Linked DNA regions of Homo sapiens: all the other regions are linked to region 2. The links are contacts of gene promoters, found by promoter capture Hi-C in blood cells and fetal thymus (Javierre and others, 2016). All regions are on one chromosome and are shown on one strand. The core of a region is centred on a gene start or on the middle of the fragment in contact, and the rest is flanking DNA. Distances in the headings are between cores, read along the strand shown.

Region 1 (2,700 bases), core at 67-2,566, 770 kb after region 2:
TTGGATTCCAGCTTCACCCCTCACAGCCCTGCTTCCCAGAGGCGGAGCTTCTCTGGGGAGGAACTCAGAATGAAGTGTCCCCCATGGCAGAGTCTGAAAGCTGGCTCCCCAGTGGGAAGGGACTTGGACACTGCTTGCTCCATTAACAATTGAGCAGCTACTACTATGTGCTAGGGTAGGTACTGTGCTAGGCCCTGAGCAGACAGCAGCCAACGAGACAAGCAGTCCCTGCCTTCAAGGAACTCATACCTGAGTAGTTTTCCCATTCCTTAGTCTCACCTGTTCTGGTCGAAGGGGTAGGTGATGAACTTGGGGTCGAAGGGGATATCAGGGAGGCTATTGCAGTACTTGACTCGGCAGACCACTCCAGACCTAGGAACATTAGTGGCTCAAAAGTGGGCCCCCGCTGCCCCACCTCTGCTCCCAGCCCCACTGCCCCACCGCTCCTGGGAAAGCACAGTGGGGCTCACCTCTCAGGCAGAGTCCGGTGGGAATTGGGCCTAGTGGAGAAGAAAGAAACAGTGATAGGTGGAGAGGACGGGATTGACAGGAGAATGAAAAAGGCTTCCCCAACCTTTCAAAAGGTAGGAGGGGTGACAAATGCTGGTTTCTTTGGGTGGTGGTGTGGGGAGTGTCCAAATGCTTTAATGGAAGGAGACAAATGTTCAATTTATTTAGGAAGAAATGCCCCCAAAAGCTTTAATGAACAAGGCCAAGTGCTCAATCCCTTTTGCAGGAGATGGCTTCAAGTGCTTTAATAAAGAACCATGTACTCAATCGTCTTCGGAAGAGGGGTCTCCAAACGGTTGACTGGAGGGATCCCTTCTGGAGGGAGTCTCCAAAAGCCTAATCCCTGAACTGCACGGCGGGGAGGAGGGGAACACCTGAATCTCAGAAGGAACCCGCCCCCTTCGTCAAAGGTGAGCGCTTCATGACGTCACGGGCAGACCTGGGGGCTGGTGACGTTGTTCAGCAGAAACCCTCTCCCGATCCCCCGCCTTGCTGCAACAGAAAAGCGTGGCGCCTACCTGTGGCCATCCTCCCGCTGGGCCTGGGTCTGGATGGTGGGCGCCATAGCGACGAGGCGACGGCAGCCCGGACGGGGTCCTAGCGGGACCGAAGGGGGACGCAGAGGGGCGTGCCGACTTCAGGGGACGCCTGATCCGAGGAAGGCCCAGCTTGGCGCCGCTCCCCGCGGAAAGTGGGTTGAGATGAGGTGGGCGGGCGAGAAGAGCTCCAGCGAGACTCAGGTGAACGCGCAGGCAGCACCGGGGACGGACTCGAAGCTCCGGTTCCACCAACTGCCGCCAAGACGCTGAGGACCCAACGGGTCTCCTCAGGCCGCGACGCCTTCGGGGAAATGAAGTCCGGCTCGGAACCACACACGGATTGGCGAGCGTCTGGGTGAAGGGCGGAGCGAGGGAGAGAGGTGCTTCTGTGATTGGTGGAGAGATATCTCAGTCTGGACGCAGATTTGAGAGTGACGTAACGTTGGGGCACCTCCTTCCCCTCCATTGGCTTAATTGCCTAGGGGGCGGGACTAACTAGCAAACGGGGACTAGAAATAGGGATGCTGAAAAGCAACGGGGAGAGACGCAGTCGTAACGCACTTCCGGCGGTCTACGCGAGGAAGATGGCTGCATCCCAGCAGCAAGCTTCAGCGGCTTCCTCAGCTGCTGGTGTATCGGGTCCTAGTTCGGCTGGCGGCCCGGGTCCCCAGCAGCAGCCGCAACCGCCAGCACAACTGGTGGGCCCTGCCCAGAGCGGCCTCCTGCAGCAACAGCAACAGGACTTCGATCCTGTGCAGCGTTATAAGATGCTCATCCCGCAGCTGAAGGAGAGTCTACAGGTGATTGGCCTTAAGCAGCGAGAAGCAAACTGGATTTGGTAGTCTAGAGGGGCAGGCCGAGGGCCAGGTTAGTCGGAGAGAGCGCTAAGCAGAAAGAGGAATAGAACCTGCTGTTTTGGCCTGGCTGGTGCACGCCTGTGTTCCCAGCACTTTGGGAGGCCGAGGCGGGCGGATCACTTGAGGTCAGGAGTTCAAGACCAGCCTGGTGAAACCTCGTCTCTACTAAAAATACAAAAATTAGCCGGGCATGGTGGCGCGCGCCTGTAATTACAGCTACTCGGGAAGCTGAGGCAGGAGAATCGCTTGAACCCAGGAGGCGGAGGTTGCAGTGAGCCGACATCGTGCCATTGCACTCCAGCCTGGGCAACAGAGCGAGACTCCGTCAAAAAAATAAATAAATAAATAAATAAAACTGTTGTTTTCTGCGAGACCTAAGCGAAGCTCGGCAGAGATGGGATCAGCGCTGATGCTGAGGCTGGGACTGGCCGGAGCTTGAGTGAGGGGTTGTTTAAAGGAGAAACTGGGCTCTGGTCGTTAAAGCCTGAGGAGAGTACTGGCTTATACGGAGATTCTGCCCTTGATTGATAGGTGAGGGAGGACCCTTAGGTTATTGGCGAGAAGCTCAGGTGAGAGCGGGCCTCTGGGAGGATGGAGTGGTGACAGCTATAGGAATGGAAACGAATATTACTTTGGAAAGTCAGGAGGGAAGGTGCCAGTTGAAAAGAAAACCTGAGACTGAGTGATCTCAAGAAAGAGTGTAGATCTGCCAGAGGTATTCCCTTTTGTTTTTCCATTTCCCACGTGTTTTGTTTTTGTTTTGACTAGACCTTGATGAAGGTTGCGGCCCAAAA
Region 2 (2,700 bases), core at 1-2,500:
GCCTCAGGGCTCAACTTCTGGCACCTCCCTCCGTCCCCAGAAGCCCTGCACCCGCCTTGCCTCCGCGGGCTGTGGCCTCCCCCCTCCTCACTCTCGCTTCCTGCCCCAGCTGCACTGCACGACTGTGCAACGGGCTCCACCCCCCCGTCCCCTGGGCTCTGAGAGCCTCTGAGGGGCAGCTTGTCTTGGGACCCAAGGGACCACCCTCAACCTCCAAGGCCCAGGGCTGGATGTAAATGTGATGCAAATGATCTTAATCGTAACTGGGTTGGAGGGGGGTGCCTTAGAACCCCCGCCCCCGTCTCCTAGGTAGTGTCTAAACCTCTGCTGGGTGCTTGAAGGTTTGGCCACAACCCGAAGGCGGCAGGTCTGCAAAGGGATGGCTATGCAGTGTACATGCCTGTTCACCTGTCACATACATGCACTTGGGTTACCTCCTCTGCACTGCGCAGGCGTGTAGACGTGCATCTGCCTGGATACCTGTGTGCACAGTACACACGTGGATGTACCCAGGACATATACCTCCACATGCATGGCACATAACTGCATTTTGTAGGCCTGCAGTGTACAAAACCTATACATAATATATAATTCATGGCAGTACAAATGGGACGCTCGCCCTCAGCTCCAAGACCGGAACCTAATGGAGACGGGGCGCGATCCGGCGAAGTCCAGGAGCCCTCACCCCAGCCCCTGCCCGGCAGAGCACAGTAGCTTTGTGGGACCCTCCTCCTGGAGCTGGGGACCAAGGGCTGAGACTTGAAACTGGAGAGCTCAGGATCCTGCACCAGGCGCCCAGGCCTGTGGCAAGAGGGACCTCAGAACACCTCCCTCGGAACTTGGCCATGGCCTAAACGTAAGGCTGCTGCGTGCATTCCCGCAGAGCTCCGTGGCCTCATGGCCGCGCGCAATACAACGCGCGCGCACGCCGCCAGAGCTCCGGGTGCTTCCCGGTGAGTTCGCGCGCGCACGCTCCCGCGCTACCGGCACTGGAACTGGGTCTGTGAGGCCCGGGAAAAGCTTAGCCCCGCCCCCTCGCCACGAGAGGCGCCTGCGCACTGGGATCCAGTAAGATTTTTCTCACGCTGTCTGTCCAGCTTGAGTGGCGCGAATGCGCACGCGCCAATTGCGCCTGCGAGGAAGAAGTCACGTGGCAGCCGGAAAGCGTGGCGGCTGCTGCTAGAGCCTTTCCCTTTACCGCACCCAAGGAGCTGGAGCGACAACAACGACGTCGTTTCCGTTTCCACCACCTCTTCCTGTTCCCGTCCTTGAGGACGCCGTGCCGGGTCAGTGTTAGCCTCCAGCCCTGGTTGTGGAAGGCGACAGAAGTCATGGCGATGTTTGAGCAGATGAGAGCCAACGTGGGCAAGTTGCTCAAGGGTATCGACAGGTCTGAGCCCGGTTGGAGGAAGCGCTCTGGCCAAGCGGGGCGGAGGAGAGGGTTTTCCGGAGACAGCAAGGGGTGTTCAGGGTCCTGGGCTTGCCGCGGGGTGGGGTTTCTCTATCCTCCTGGAGGAGGAGATGCTTAAAGAAACGGCACTGAGCTGGGGGTAGTGGCTCACGCCTGTGATCCTAGCACTTTGGGAGGCCGAGGTAGGTGGGTCGCCTGAGCCCAGGAGTTAGAGACCAGCCTGGGCAACAGCCAAACCCCGTCTCTAAAAGAAAGAAACAAAAGCACTGCAAAGGCCTAGAAGCGAGAGAATCTTGGTACCACTCAGTCTCTTCGTAAATTGCCTTAAGGTTTCCTTCTCTGCTCCGCCTCCTTTGAGTGCCTCTTAATCTCTCCCTTCTCTGCTCTATAAGTCATTCATTCTCCACACGTTTACTGAAATAAACTGTCAGTGCTAGGCAATGCTGGGAACCACAGGCGAATCAGACAGCGGCAGATCATGCCTTCACGGTCTGAGTTCCCTTTCCATAAGGGAGACAAACCTGACAGCAGACAGCGATAGCCGGGAGAGATTAGAACTGAAATGGGGGAAGCAAAGGCCAGAGTGTTCAGGTGGACATGGAGGAAGTAGGCAGCGAGGTAGGCAGGAGAGGATGGGGCTGGATCAGGGTGGAGGCCTGAACAGGGGAGGAAGGGGTGAGTAGCAGAGACATTCAGGAGGCCAGGTGTACAAGCTGCAGTGACTGACTGGCTCAGAGGTTGAGGAGGCATCCTAGGGAAGAGCCAGGGCTCCAGTGGAGTTTAGAGCTTAGGCGAGAGGTCTGGGATAAGAATAAGTTTTACTAGAGATTATACTGGACATAATTCACTACCTGGATAGAGCAAGTGGCCAGTGCCAGATTTAGAGGGGAAGGGCGGGAGGAGCAGGTTACAGTGGCCCCTTGCTCCATAAGGTGGCTGGCCTCAGCTTCTGTCTCCTCTGTGCTCACCTATCTTGATTCTCCTTTAGGTACAATCCTGAGAACCTGGCCACCCTGGAGCGCTATGTAGAGACGCAGGCCAAGGAAAATGCCTATGATCTGGAAGCCAACCTGGCTGTCCTGAAGCTGTAAGTGTCTAGCTCTCTGTCTACACTCCCATTGCAGCAACTAGCAGGGTGCCACTCCCAGTACAGGGCAAGGGGGTGGCTGGTAGTATCCTGAACAATGCAGCATCTCTTGGTGTGCAAGACTAGGAAGCCAAGGAAGTTGGGACAGGAGGAGGGATGGTTTTTGAAAAATCAATTGCCGGGCGCGGTGACTCACGCCTGT
Region 3 (2,700 bases), core at 147-2,646, 820 kb after region 2:
TAGGCCAGGCATGGTGATCACACCTGTAATCCCAGTCCAGGCAGAAGGATCACATGAGACCAAGGACCAGCCTGGGCAATAAAGTGAGACCCCACGTCTACAGAAAAATATTTCTCAAATGAGCCAGGCGTGGTGATGTGCCTGTAGTCTTGGCAACCGAAAGGCTGAGGTGGGAGGATCTCCAACTCAGGAGTTTAAGGCTGCAGTTCATTAGGATTGTGCTATTGCACTCCAGGGTAGGTGACAGCAAGATACTGTTTTTAAAAAAGAACCTTATAACTCAAAAAAAATTTTTTTAACTGACCCTGCAATGTAGATATTCTTTCTTTTAAAAGTAGTAGAGTTCAGAAGGGGCAGAAATCAGACTCTGGTTTCTTTCCATTCTGAGCCAAAGAAATTGAGAGTCCCAAAAAGGGAACAGAGGAACCCCTTTTACAAGCAAGCATTTAAACAGACCCAAATTCGGCCGCACACGGTGGCTGACGCCTGCAATCCCAGCACTTCGGGAGGCCGAGGCTGGTGGATCACCTGAGGTAATGAGTTCGAGACCACTCTGGCCAATATGGCGAAACCCCGTCTCTACTAAAAATACAAAAATTAGCCGGGCGTGGTGGTGCATGCCTGTAATCTCAGCTACTCAAGAGGCTGAGGCAGGAGAATCGCTTTAACCCGGGAGGCGAAGGTTGCAGTGATCCGAGATCGCGCCACTACACTCCAGCCTGGGCGACACAGCGAGACTCCCTCTCAAAACAAATAAATAAAATAAAAAATAGTCGGTGTCCCTTCACCCTTTGGGTCCCCCCGCCCCAGTGAGGTGAGCTTCCTAACATCCCAGTTCTCAAAGCAAACCCTTAATCTTCAACAACCCCATCTCAGCTTTTACATCTTCTGAACCCCAAGCCCAGCTCTATTGCCAAATACCCCACTGTTCTACACCCAACACAACTTCTAAACATCCCGTTGCTGATGCCAGCCCCCCCAGCTTTCAAGAGCTACAACATCTCTGTCTCCAAGAGTCCTCCATCCACTCAACGCCGGTGCCGGATCCCAGCACCTTGTACTGTAGCGTGCGCGGCTCAATCATCTCCAGGGGCCGCCCGTTCACCTTGATGAGACCATTGCCGCGTTTGCAGTGCGCCACAGCTGTCGCTGTCTTCTGTAAGATACAAGAGAAACAGGGGCCCCGTGAGCTCCGGCTCCAGCTCCCATGTTACCCCCTAGATTCCTGCCCACCGACCTCTCCCAGACCCTGGCCTTCTCCTTCCCCTCCCCTTCCCATCCGGCGTCTGGCTCACCTTGCGTCCGAAGACCTGCACAGACTGCAGCGGGCCCTTGGACGGCATGGCTCCGAGCGTGGACTAGACAACCTCACCGCGCGGCGCCGCAACCGGAAAAGGAAAGCTAGGGGCCACCCTGGCCGCTTTTCAGGGTCTGCGCAGGCGCCTTGAGCACTGCGTCGCGACGGGAGAGAGCTTTACGGCTTCTGTTGCGGCTAACGGGCGGGGCGTCTGGTCAGCGGCGGGAAGGCCCTTAGGCGCTCAGAGCGGGCGGGCCCTGTGAGGCGGAAGTGGCGGGCTCTGTGGGCGGAAGGGGCGGGGCCTGGGAGTGTCGTGTGCGGACTGAAGGGAAGGCTGCGGGAGTGTGCTTCGCGTCCTCTGTAGTCGACTACCGCAGCTCTTCTTTGCATTCTGGCTCTTTAATAATCTCCCTTCGCCCTTTCTTTAAATCAGTTCCCACCCTCCCAACACCTGTAATCTTTCTCCCCTCTGGACTCCCTCCTCCCCGAATCCCCCGCATCAGAATCTTCCTTTGGAATCTACTGCAAGAAATCTGGCTGGATTCTCAGATTAAGGACTTCCAGAATCCTATCCTCCCTAGAATCCCCCTCCTTGGGGATCCTCTCCCAGAATCCTTTTCCCCTCAGAGCCCCTTCCCCTCAGAATCTCCCTTTCACCAGAATGTCCTTCCTTTCAGTTTCCTCTTCCCAGAATGTTTCCCATCCTTCTCTCAGATGGCCAACCCCAAATGTCCCTCTTAAGAGTGCTCAACTTAGACCCCCCTTTTCCCTGAATCTCCCTCCATTCGGTCCTCGTCCCCTCAGTCACCCTTCCCAGAATCTTTCTCTTGTCAGGACCCAGTACCCCTGGAATCTCCCTCCTCCAGAATCTCCCTTTCCCGGCAAATCCCCCTTTCCCGGCAAATCCCCCTTTCCCAGAACACCCCGCCCCGCAAATCCACAAAAACTTTTCTCTCAGAGACCCGTCCCTCAAAATCTACCTTTCTCCTGAGTTTATTTCCCTTCCGAGACTCCTCTTCCCAGCAACTGCCTTCCCTGGAGTTTTCCCTCCGTTAGAATCCCCCTCTCCTAAGAGACCCTCCCCCAAGAATTAACCTCTTCCCCGTCCCCACCCTAGAATCTCTCTCTTTTTTTTGAGACGGAGTTTCGCTCGTTGCCCTGGCTAGAGTGCAGTGGTGCGATCTCGTCTCACTGCAACCTCCGCCTCCCGGGTTCAAGAGATTCTCCTGCCTTAGGCTCCCGAGTAGCTGGAATTACAGGCGTCTACCACCACGCCCTGGTCGTTTTTTGTATTTTTAGTAGAAATGGGGTTTCACCACGTTGGCCAGGCTGGTCTCGAACTCCTGACCTCAGGTGATGTGATCCGCCTCAGCCTCCCAGAGTCCTGGGATTACAGGCGTGAG

The links. Contacts are between HindIII fragments. The CHiCAGO score rates a contact against its expected background, and 5 or more counts as called.
Region 1: the fragment with the promoter of PAF1 here is called in contact with the fragment with the promoter of EIF3K in region 2 in 10 of 17 cell types (fetal thymus, naive CD4 T cells, total B cells and 7 more); the score reaches 23.2 in fetal thymus.
Region 3: a contact is called between the fragment with the promoter of RPS16 here and the fragment with the promoter of EIF3K in region 2, in 2 of 17 cell types (monocytes and total B cells). The highest score is 5.4, in monocytes.

The regions. Positions count from the first base shown.
Region 1 is chr19:39,389,790-39,392,489 of GRCh38, forward strand. PAF1 (PAF1 component of Paf1/RNA polymerase II complex) reads right to left here and starts at 1,317. Exons shown (of 14, transcript NM_019088.4): 1 at 1,029-1,317; 2 at 471-500; 3 at 280-372. The coding sequence starts at 1,075. It overlaps MED29 (mediator complex subunit 29), which reads left to right and starts at 1,589. Exons shown (of 4, transcript NM_017592.4): 1 at 1,589-1,849; 2 at 2,675-2,700. The coding sequence starts at 1,634. It also overlaps a transcript of SAMD4B not described here. RefSeq lists a silencer at 1-106 and an enhancer at 1,644-1,933. The HindIII fragment of the contact is 958 bases long and covers 696-1,653 here.
Region 2 is chr19:38,617,938-38,620,637 of GRCh38, forward strand. EIF3K (eukaryotic translation initiation factor 3 subunit K) reads left to right here and starts at 1,251. Exons shown (of 8, transcript NM_013234.4): 1 at 1,251-1,390; 2 at 2,400-2,498. The coding sequence starts at 1,332. It overlaps MAP4K1 (mitogen-activated protein kinase kinase kinase kinase 1), which reads right to left and starts at 16. Exons shown (of 31, transcript NM_001042600.3): 1 at 1-16. RefSeq lists an enhancer at 540-589. The HindIII fragment of the contact is 6,969 bases long and covers 1,019-2,700 here.
Region 3 is chr19:39,434,553-39,437,252 of GRCh38, forward strand. It overlaps RPS16 (ribosomal protein S16), which reads right to left and starts at 1,397. Exons shown (of 5, transcript NM_001020.6): 1 at 1,296-1,397; 2 at 1,055-1,156. The coding sequence starts at 1,343. RefSeq lists an enhancer at 591-1,170 and a silencer at 1,551-1,650. The HindIII fragment of the contact is 27,347 bases long and covers 1-2,700 here.